Linked DNA regions of Homo sapiens: all the other regions are linked to region 3. Evidence: promoter capture Hi-C in 16 types of primary human blood cells and fetal thymus (Javierre and others, 2016). All regions are on one chromosome and are shown on one strand. Each heading gives the region's core, a stretch centred on a gene start or on the middle of the fragment in contact. The rest is flanking DNA. Distances are from core to core; before and after follow the strand shown.

Region 1 (3,353 bases), core at 130-2,629, 220 kb before region 3:
GGGACAGGCTGATGTGAGAGCACCTTCTTTCTTGGGATGGGTAGAGTATAATTGTCCCTTTGCCTATCGTCAGATTTGGGTGGCCCAGTTGCTTTAAATTTTGAAAACATGGGAGTATTAACGCAAAGAAGAGCCAACATTAGTTCAGAATAGCTGAATTCATCATTCTTTTGGAACCAGTTTTGCTACTGTATAATGATAATAGCTCTTCAGCATTCATCTAGTGAGTGATAAAGATAAGTGATGATCCACAAGAAAGTTTACCTTTGACTTGTGGGTGCTCACGGACTGCAGAATGCAGATGTTCGTAGATCAGCCGTACTGTAATTTTCAAGGATTTAATATGCAATACATTCCTATATTAAGATGTTGAAACATTAAAATATTAATAATTTGCAATGATTTTTAAATACTTTAAACAGGCTCTTCCACTGGTGAGATTGTTTTTCCAAGCAGAGTTAGCTAGTTTAAATTCTTTCGTTGTGGCTGGGTGCAGTGACTCACGCTTGTAATCCCAGCATTTTGGGAGTCTGAGGCGAGCAGATCACCTGAAGTCAGGAGTTCGAGACCAGCCTGGCCAACATGGCAAAACCCTGTGTCTACTAAAAATAAGAAAATTAGCCTAGTGTGGTGGTGTGCGCCTGTAATCCCAGCTGCTAGGGAGGCTGAGGCAGGAGAATCGCTTGAACCTCGGAGGCAGAGGTTGAGCCAAGATCACACCACTGCACTCCAGCCTGGGCAACAGAGCAAGACTCCCATCTAAAAAAAAAAAAAATTGTTTTGTTGTATTCTCAGTTGTCTATTTCAGGTCTAGGCAGGCAAGAAAACTTTGTCAGGTACACTGGTGTCTTCCAAAATGTGCATCGTACCCTCTATTACTCAGTGTCATTAATCACATCCATTCCTTTCCCACCCTGTCTTGGAATAGGACATTAACTCTTCAACGATCTGCCCCCTAAATAAAACCTGCTTTCTTGGGCCATAGTAAACAACACGTAATTCTTTGCGAGAAAAGCAAAATAGTGATAATTATAATTTTTTTTTTTGGAACGGAGTCTCGCACTGTCACCCGGGCTGGAGAACAATGAATGGCGTGATTTCGGCTCACGGCAACCTACACCTCCCAGGTTCAAGCGATTCTCCTGCCTCTGCCTCCTGAGTAGCTGGGATTACGGGCGCCTGCCACCACACCCGGCTAATTTTTTGGTATTTTTTTAGTAGAGATGGGGTTTCACTATGTTGGCCAGGCTGGTCTCAAATGCCTGACCTCATGATCCAGCTGCCTTGGCTTCCCAGAGTGCTGGGATTACAGGCGTGAGCCAACTTTTAAAAATTAAAAAAATTTTTAAAAACCAACTTTTTAAATTTTCAAAAACCAATTTTAAAAACCAATTTTTAAAAAGCCAACTTTTAAAAATTTAATATTGGAGCATAATAGAATTCAGCAATATAAGATTTGATTGGGAATAAGAAATAACATCTCTTTTAAAAATGACTACAGCCCTCTTAACAATTTTACTCTTAACCAATTTTGGGGTACCAGTTTACTAATTGATCAAATTCCAGATTGGAAATTAGTCATCATTTGATTAACCAGAGTTAAGCCTCTTGAATCAAATTCTCTAATTTATTATCTCCCATCTGATCTAAATTCTTTTTTAGGGGATAAATTGCCAAAACGCTTTCAGAATGCCCAGTACTAGAAATCTAAGCTATTCAATTCAGTCTCTTCTCTGTTTTCAGGCTCCTTTCCTGACCCTTTGGAGAACCTAATATATTTAGCTAAAAATTTTTCTTTGGGGCCTCACCTAATAAAGGTAAATAGAAAACTGATAGCTATCACATAACATACATATTGGTTAATAATTGCAACCAAAAGTAAATTAATAATTTTGAGCTATTTATATTAGCTCTGCCAAAATTACATCATTAAATTTGGCCTTATGAAGCATTGCTGACTGTAGTAAAAACAAGTGTGAGCAAAGTCTTCATATGCACTGAGTCTGGTTTCAGTTCCACGTAATACTGACTTGGCAAGTGTGGAAATTCTCATGTCATCATTACCAAAAAAAAGTGAGTTCACACAGGGATTTCTGATCAAGTGACCCATTACTGCGGGAAAAAACCACACATACAAAAGCCTTTGACCCCAGTAATTTTGTATTGGTATATTTACCCTGATCTTAAACTGCAAGGAATGTCCGCAATTAGAGTTTTTCTTTGTTTTCTAAGTCTGAAACTTGATAATCCATTTCTGCCTTCCCATGACGAGTGGACATTCCTCCAGCCAGTGGTGAGTTCCTCTTTCCTTCGCTCTCAGCAAGAGCATGGGTTGCCCTCCCATCTCGTAAGCAGAGCCTACCACAAACGCAGCTCAAATCTCAGTTTCCAGCCCTGCTTACTCACTCGCTTGTTCCTGAATCCCCACATTACCCATCATGGCATCTTACTCTGTAGACTTCACATGTGAACTTTGCCCTCGCCGGTGGAAGGGGTACAGTCCAGATGGGAGATGAAATCCAAATGCTCCACCAAAGGGCTTTGGTTTGTTCTGGGGAGCCCTGGTGCTGCCGAAGCCTCTTGGGAAGGAAGGAGGGAAGAGGAGAAGAAAAGATACTAAGTTTGGTTTTCATTAAAAATTTTTCCAGGTTTTCTTTAAACTGATAGGTTCAGGGTCTTTTTCATACAACAGTCTACTTTTAGAGCTTTTGTTCGTTTGTTGTGTCATGGGAATTTATAAGGGATGGAAGGAAAAGGGGGACAAGGAATGGTCTAATTTCGGTCAGTAGAAGAATACCTGAAACCTGTTTAAATTTATTTGGAACTAATGACTTCTACTTTTAGTATCCATAAAAGACTTCCCTTGGAGCACAAAGAAGTTAATAATCTGTGTATATTGTCACTTCATGCTCTTCTTAAGCGCTGTGTGTTGGGGCACTGCTCTAGGTGTGGTGAAAGACTGCTACAGGATAAATAAGTCATGGTCACTGCCCTGGAAAGAAGCTTAAAATCCAGTGGGAGTAAATGATAAATGCATAATGACCTAAATGTCAGATGGATCTAGTACGTACCTGGAGGATTGCATAGAAGCATCCTGACAAGGGTGCCAAGAATACGCAATGGGGGAAAGGACAGTCTCTTCGAAGAATACTGTTGGGAAAACTGGATATCCACCTGCCAAAAAATAAAATTGGACCCTTAACACCATATACAAAAATCAACTTGAAATGGATTAAGACTTAACTGTAAGAGGCCGGGTGCAGTGGCTCATGCCTGTAATCCCAGCACTTTGGGAGGCTGAGGCTGGCGGATCACAAGGTCAGGAGTTTGAGACCAGCCTGGCCAACATAGTG
Region 2 (2,992 bases), core at 135-2,634, 240 kb before region 3:
ACCACCATGCCCAGCTAATTTTTGTATTTTTAGTAGAGATGTGGTTTCACCATGTTGGCCAGGATGGTCTCAATCTCTTGACCTCATGATCCGCCTGCCTCAGCCTCCCAAAGTGCTGGGATTATAGGTGTGAGCTGTTGCACCCGGCCCCCATTCCATATTTTAATGAGAATATCTTTTGGTTAGTTATAGAGGTAAATACCTGGATTTACAATGTGTAACTACAGATTCATCATCCTATAATAAAGTAACTCTTTTTGCATAAACTTTTGATAAGTTATTTTTGTCCTTATAATTTTATGTGTGAAGTCTTTACGGTCAGAGGACATTGACAAAATATTTTAGATTGAAAGCCTGTTCTCCTTGATGATTCAGTATAACTTCTTTTGACTGCGCTTTTAGTTCTTGCAAAATAGATCTTGTTTAGATGAGATTCCAGCATGACTCCTTTGTAATTTTTCATATTTTTGCTATTACATCTCAACTCTTGAAGAGCTATTTCTGTGAAAACCAAACATGCAGTCAAGGCACATTCCACGTGTGGCTGATGGGGTTATCATAGTTACAAATCATATTTATCCACAGTGATAATTATCTTCCTTAGCGTTTTGTTCTACTTCAGAGCTCATTTGTGGGCCTTACCACCTGTTTCTTACATATGGGGAAAGAGTCTCTTATTCTCTTTTGGAATATAGATCTAAGAGTAGATTTATATCAGGATTTGAAAGATGAATCTTTTTCAAGGATGTTTTTCCTCTGGACCGTGGCATTGTGTAAGAAATTTCCCTACTCATCCCATCCCTGGGGCACATTAATTTGGAGATGATGTTAAATGTGTCAGAGTGTGGCACAAATCTCAACTGGCAGATAAAGCCTAGTATTGAATTGTTTTCAGTTCAGAAACGTGGCTGGCTGACTTTGACCCTGAATGTGTAAATTATCTTTGCAGCAATAAGAACTTGAAGTAGCTTTGATAGCTAATCATAGTATGATAACTCAGCCAGAAGAATTCACTAAGAGCAGTTTGTGTGTCTTCCATCTAATGTAAAGGTTAGTAATGTAAGTCATATTCTTGGTGCCTTTAGACCTAGTTATGCAGAGAGACATCACATTGACATTCAGTAATTCTTACTCTTAACAGTTCCTTAACTCTAAAATCATCTTTTTCCTTACCTTTCCCTAGTTCTAGAACAGCAAAATATTTTACTTAGATTCTATCATTAATTAATATACTCGTTTGAATTTTTCTCTTCTAAAAAATGTAGGCCAGGCATGGTGGCTTTACACCTGTAATCCCAGGACTTTGGGAGGTCGAGGCGGGCGGATCACCTGAGGTCTGGAGTCCGAGACCAGTCTGGCCAATGTGGCGAAACCCACCCCGTCTCTACTAAAAATACAAAAATTAGCTGGGTGTGGTGGTGTGCGCCATAGTCCCAGCTACTCTGGAGGCTGAGGCAGGAGAATCACTTGAACCCGGGAGGCAGAGGTTGCAGTGAGCCAAGATCACGTCACTGTATTCCAGCTTGGGTGACAGAGCAAGACTCTGTCTCAAAAAAAAAAAAAAAAAAGTAAAATTATTTTGGCCTTACCATGCTTGGTTTCTTTGTCTTTGTTTTTTCATTCACTTTATGTTTGGGGAGGAGAATGGAGTGTCAGTGATTTCAGCAAAAAGTTGGGGTACCAGTTCATAATAAATTAGTGTCTAAGATTAATGTTACAGCTGATATTCAAAGTACCAAATACGTTATTGTTCTGATTATTCTGGTCCTTAAATTTGTCTCTTTCCTGGAGACGTGGTAAACAATAATGATGATTCTAATAATGACCATTTATTGAATGAGCACTATGTGTCAGACATTGTACTGGTGATGTGGTTTGGCTGTGTGTCCCTACCCAAATCTCATCTCAAATTGTAATCCCCACGTGTTGAGGGAGGGACCTGATGGGAGGTGATTGGATCATGAGGATGGTTTACCCCATGCTGTCCTCCTGATAGCGAGGGAGTTCTCATGAGATCTAATGGTTTAAAAGTGTTTGGCAGTTTCACCCTTGCACCCATGTCTCTCTCTGTCTCTCCTGCTGTCATGTGAAGAAGAGGTCCTTGCCTCCCCTTGGCCTTCCACCGTGATTATAAGTTTCCTGGCCGGGTGCAGTGGCTCACACCTGTAATCCCAGCACTTTGAGAGACCAACGCGGGCAGATCACTTGAGGTCAGGAGTTCAAGACCAGTCTGGCCAACATGGCGAAACCTGTCTCTACTGAAAAAACAAAAATTAGCCGGGCGGGTGGCGCACACCTGTAATCTCAGCTGTTCGGGAAGCTGAGGCAGGAGAATCGATTGAACCTGACAGATGGAGGTTACAGTGAGCCAAGATTGTGCCACTGCACTTCAGCCTGTGTAACAGAGTGAGACTCTCTCAAAAAATAATGATAATAGTAAGTTTCCTAAGGCTTCCCCAGCCATGCAGAACTGTGAGTCAATTAAACCTTTTTTCTTCATAAATTGCTCAGTCTCAGGTAGTTCTTTATAGCAGTGTGAAAATGGACTAATGCAATTGGGCAATGTCTGACAGTTTGCAAATACCATCTCATTTGTTTTTAATAGAAACCTCCTGCTGAGAGTGGTGGCTCACGCCTGTAATCCCAGCTCTTTGGGAGGCCGAGGCAGGCAGATCACATGGTCAGGAGTTTGAGACCAGCCTGACCAACATGATGAAACCTGTCTCTACTAAAAATAGAAAAATTAGCTGGGTGTGGTGGTACGCGCCTGTAATCCCAGCTACTTAGGAGACTGAGGCAGGAGAATCACTTGAACGTGGGAGGCAGAGGTTGCAGTGAGCCCAGATTGAACCACTGCACTCCAGCCTGGGCAACAAAGTGAGACTCCGTCTCAAAAAAAAAAAAAAAAAAAATCTAATACTAGCCATGAGGAAAGATAATCACTCTCAGATAGTAAAGCATTTGCTTAGCCATATGTTAAGCTCTGAATTCA
Region 3 (3,234 bases), core at 735-3,234:
AGTGCGAGACTCCATTTCAAAAAAAAAAAAAAATTTGGCGTGGTAGCACATGCTTCTAGTCCCAGCTACTTGGAAGGCTGAGGCAGGAGGATCCCTTTAGCCCAGAAACTGGAGGCTACAGTGAGCTATGACTGTGCCACTGCACTCTAGCCCAGGCAACAGAGCAAGACTCTATCTCTAAAAATTAAATAAATAAAATATAAATCTGGAAAAAGAACATAAATATTGGATAACAGCAATTGACATGCGTGTTTTAATGGAAGATTGTTTTAATGGAAGATTTAAGTGGTTATCATTTATAAGTTTCCAGGATGGAATAGATTGTTGCATCCTAGCTCCTGTCAGGAGTAGAGCTTCACTGGTTTCACAGGTAGGGTATGAGGTGCTGTGTAAAGCTAGAAGCTTCTTTTGGAAGTAATTTTCAGACAGAGAATACTAATGGAGAAATTTCAGACTGAGGGAAAGGGCCTGTGAGAGAGGCCTCAGAATTAGAGCTCCAAAGGCAGATTCGAGGATTTCAGAACTCAGTGCTGAAAACACCAAACTGCTGAAAGAGGTGGCCACAGTACAACCATTTTGATGAGAAGTTGAACAGGGTGACCATGCCTCTTTGGAGAAATAATCCCCTAGGTCTGGAGGCGGCCCAGGATCCTGAAGGTGAGTACCAGTGCTGGTGGAAAATAAGGAGCATTCAAAGTGCATTAAGAGCCACTCCGGGGTCTTTAACTTGTTAACATGGAAAACAATAGCAAAGTACTGCTGGGGCCCCCTGCTGTGTGTATAGAATATACCGGAAGACTAAGACATGGAGATAGCAGCTGGGAGCTACCGCAGAGATTCAGACTTGAGGTGAAGGGCTGGCCTTAGGGGGGCACGTGGGTGTGTAGGAAGAACTGCTCAGCAGGCCTTAGGGATACATTTGTTGTGCAGGTGCAGAGAGGACACAGGCATGGCTGGGGCGGGAGTTCAGGATGAGAACCCTGGGACAGGCTGTAAGATGATCGAGCCAGGGGTGTGTGTGTGTGTGTGTGTGTGTGTGTGTGTGTGTGTGTGTGTAGAGGTATAATGACATACTGTAAAATGCAAGATATGAAGTGTAGAATGAGTTTTGATACATTTCTACATCTGTGTAACCACCCCCCACAACCTCAGTTTTTTTTAATACATATGTTTCTTTTTAAGTTTGAGTTTCCCGTGCCTGCAGAGTCTAAGTTTAAACAGCCTCACAGACAAGAAGCTATATGCACCTGAAGTGAACGGGAACACGGGCTGCAACAGTAGATCGTAAAGTTATTTGGAGCGAAGGAGGTAGAAGTGTTGTGAGCAAATGAAGACAGGTGCAGGAAGGGATAAACGGAGAACAGAAAGTTCCAACCTTTGAGATTTTTGAAGTGCTTGTGCCCCAACACTGAGGATCTTCTTTGCCGTATATAGGGCAACTCTGATTTACCCTATAAATTTCTCAGGCCTTCCACCTCATATTTAATTCTCTTAAGCGAGAAAAAAAATTTTTTTCTGACTTGGCTGCTGCCAAGGTCGGCTCTATCAAATCTGGTGCGTCTCTCTGGGGGAAAGGGAGCTAGAAGACCCCATAGGGTGGTTTGCACCTCCTCTAAGCATGCAAGCACGGCTCTGGTCTTGACCTGGGGAGCCCAGCTTCCTCGGTGCACCGTGCTTTGGCAACCGGGTCTTGGCGCCTCCGAGAGCGGGGCGAGGGGTGCCACGCGATTCCCAGGCCGCTCTGTATCTCTCGGTGCGCTTGCAGGGACCCTGCAGCAAAGCCCTGGATGCTTGCAGCCGGTGCAAGTTTGCAAGCAGCTGGAGAGCGGTGGCTGGAGTCGGGGGGCGGTGGGCGTGGCCACGCTCCCTCCCAGGCAGTCCCGGGAATGTTCTGAAAAGTATCCGAAAGTTCTGAGTCGCGCGCGCGCCAAAAGAAAAGGCACAACCCCCCACCACTCCGGGCGTGGCGTGCCCAGACCTCGCCACTCCAGCTGCGCCTCCGGCTGCAGCGCACACGTCTCCTGCGCCTCCTCCTCCGGAGCGTCGCTGTCCGTCGGGTTCATCCCTCGCAGCAGTCTCCAGGCGAGAGAGGGGGCCAGAGTGCTCGCACTTCTCCTAGGGGCACCATGCCCAACGACGAGGCATTCAGCAAGCCCTCTACACCGTCGGAAGCCCCTCACGCCCCCGGGGTACCGCCGCAGGGCAGAGCCGGGGGCTTTGGCAAAGCGTCTGGGGCGCTAGTGGGGGCGGCCAGCGGCTCGAGCGCCGGGGGCAGCAGCAGAGGAGGCGGCTCCGGCTCCGGGGCGTCGGACCTGGGTGCCGGGAGCAAGAAGTCCCCGCGGCTGCCCAAGTGCGCACGCTGCAGGAACCACGGCTACGCCTCGCCGCTCAAGGGCCACAAGCGCTTCTGCATGTGGCGCGACTGCCAGTGCAAGAAGTGCAACCTGATCGCCGAGAGGCAGCGCGTGATGGCCGCGCAGGTGGGTGCGGGCGTGCGGGAGCCCGGGTTCAGCCTTAGTTTTTTTTTTTTTTTTTTTTTTTAGATGGAGTCTCGCTCGGTTGCCCAGGCTGCAGTGTAGTGGCGCGATCTTGGCTCACTGCAACCTCCGCTTCCCGGGTTCAAGCAATTCTCCTGCCTCAGCCTCCCAAGTAGCTGGGACTACAGGCGCACACCACCATGCCCGGCTAATTTTTGTATTTTTAGTAGAGACGGGGGTTTCACCATATTGGTCAGGCCGGTCTCGAGCTCCTGACCTCAGGTGATCCACCCGCCTCGGCCTCCCAAAGTGCTGGGATTACAGGCGTGGGCCACCGCTCCCGGCGGGGCCCGAGTTTCTTGAATGAAGTCCCCCCAGCATGGCCGTTGCCATGCGGGTCCTGGGTTGTGGAGAGATGCGGCGGTACTTGCCGACAGCGGCGGCGCTTGGGGTCCTGGGCTCCCGGCCACGCTACATCGCCGGTCTGGGAGCGCCGGAGACGCGTCTGATCCCGCCCGCCGGGCAGAGTTGCGGGCTTCGCTCGGCTCGGGGTTCCCCACGATCTCTCACCCTGTGTTTCGGCGGAGTTGCGGGGGTTCCCTCTGCTCCCGGGTCCCTGAGATCCCTGATCCCGCTCTCAGGGCAGGGAATTCCGGGGTTCGCCCCTCTGGGCTTCCCCGCGATCCCAGAGCCCGCGTTCCAACAGAATTGGGAGGGTTTATTGCGCTAGAGGAGTCTTCAGGATCTTCGCTCCCGC

The links. The method cuts DNA at HindIII sites, captures the fragments that hold promoters and counts their contacts. A CHiCAGO score of 5 or more calls a contact.
Region 1: a contact is called between a fragment that was not itself captured here and the fragment with the promoter of DMRT1 in region 3, in 3 of 17 cell types (total B cells, fetal thymus and total CD8 T cells). The highest score is 5.4, in total B cells.
Region 2: a contact is called between a fragment that was not itself captured here and the fragment with the promoter of DMRT1 in region 3, in 1 of 17 cell types (monocytes). The highest score is 5.5, in monocytes.

The regions. Positions count from the first base shown.
Region 1 is chr9:619,371-622,723 of GRCh38, forward strand. All of the region lies in intron 1 of KANK1 (KN motif and ankyrin repeat domains 1), which reads left to right. Among named protein-coding and RNA genes, the nearest start is that of KANK1-AS1, 65 kb to the right of the region's middle. RefSeq lists an enhancer at 1,967-3,166. The HindIII fragment of the contact is 3,244 bases long and covers 1-3,001 here.
Region 2 is chr9:602,409-605,400 of GRCh38, forward strand. All of the region lies in intron 1 of KANK1 (KN motif and ankyrin repeat domains 1), which reads left to right. Among named protein-coding and RNA genes, the nearest start is that of KANK1-AS1, 82 kb to the right of the region's middle. The HindIII fragment of the contact is 5,861 bases long and covers 1-2,992 here.
Region 3 is chr9:839,713-842,946 of GRCh38, forward strand. It overlaps DMRT1 (doublesex and mab-3 related transcription factor 1), which reads left to right and starts at 1,985. Exons shown (of 5, transcript NM_021951.3): 1 at 1,985-2,480. The coding sequence starts at 2,127. The HindIII fragment of the contact is 3,804 bases long and covers 401-3,234 here.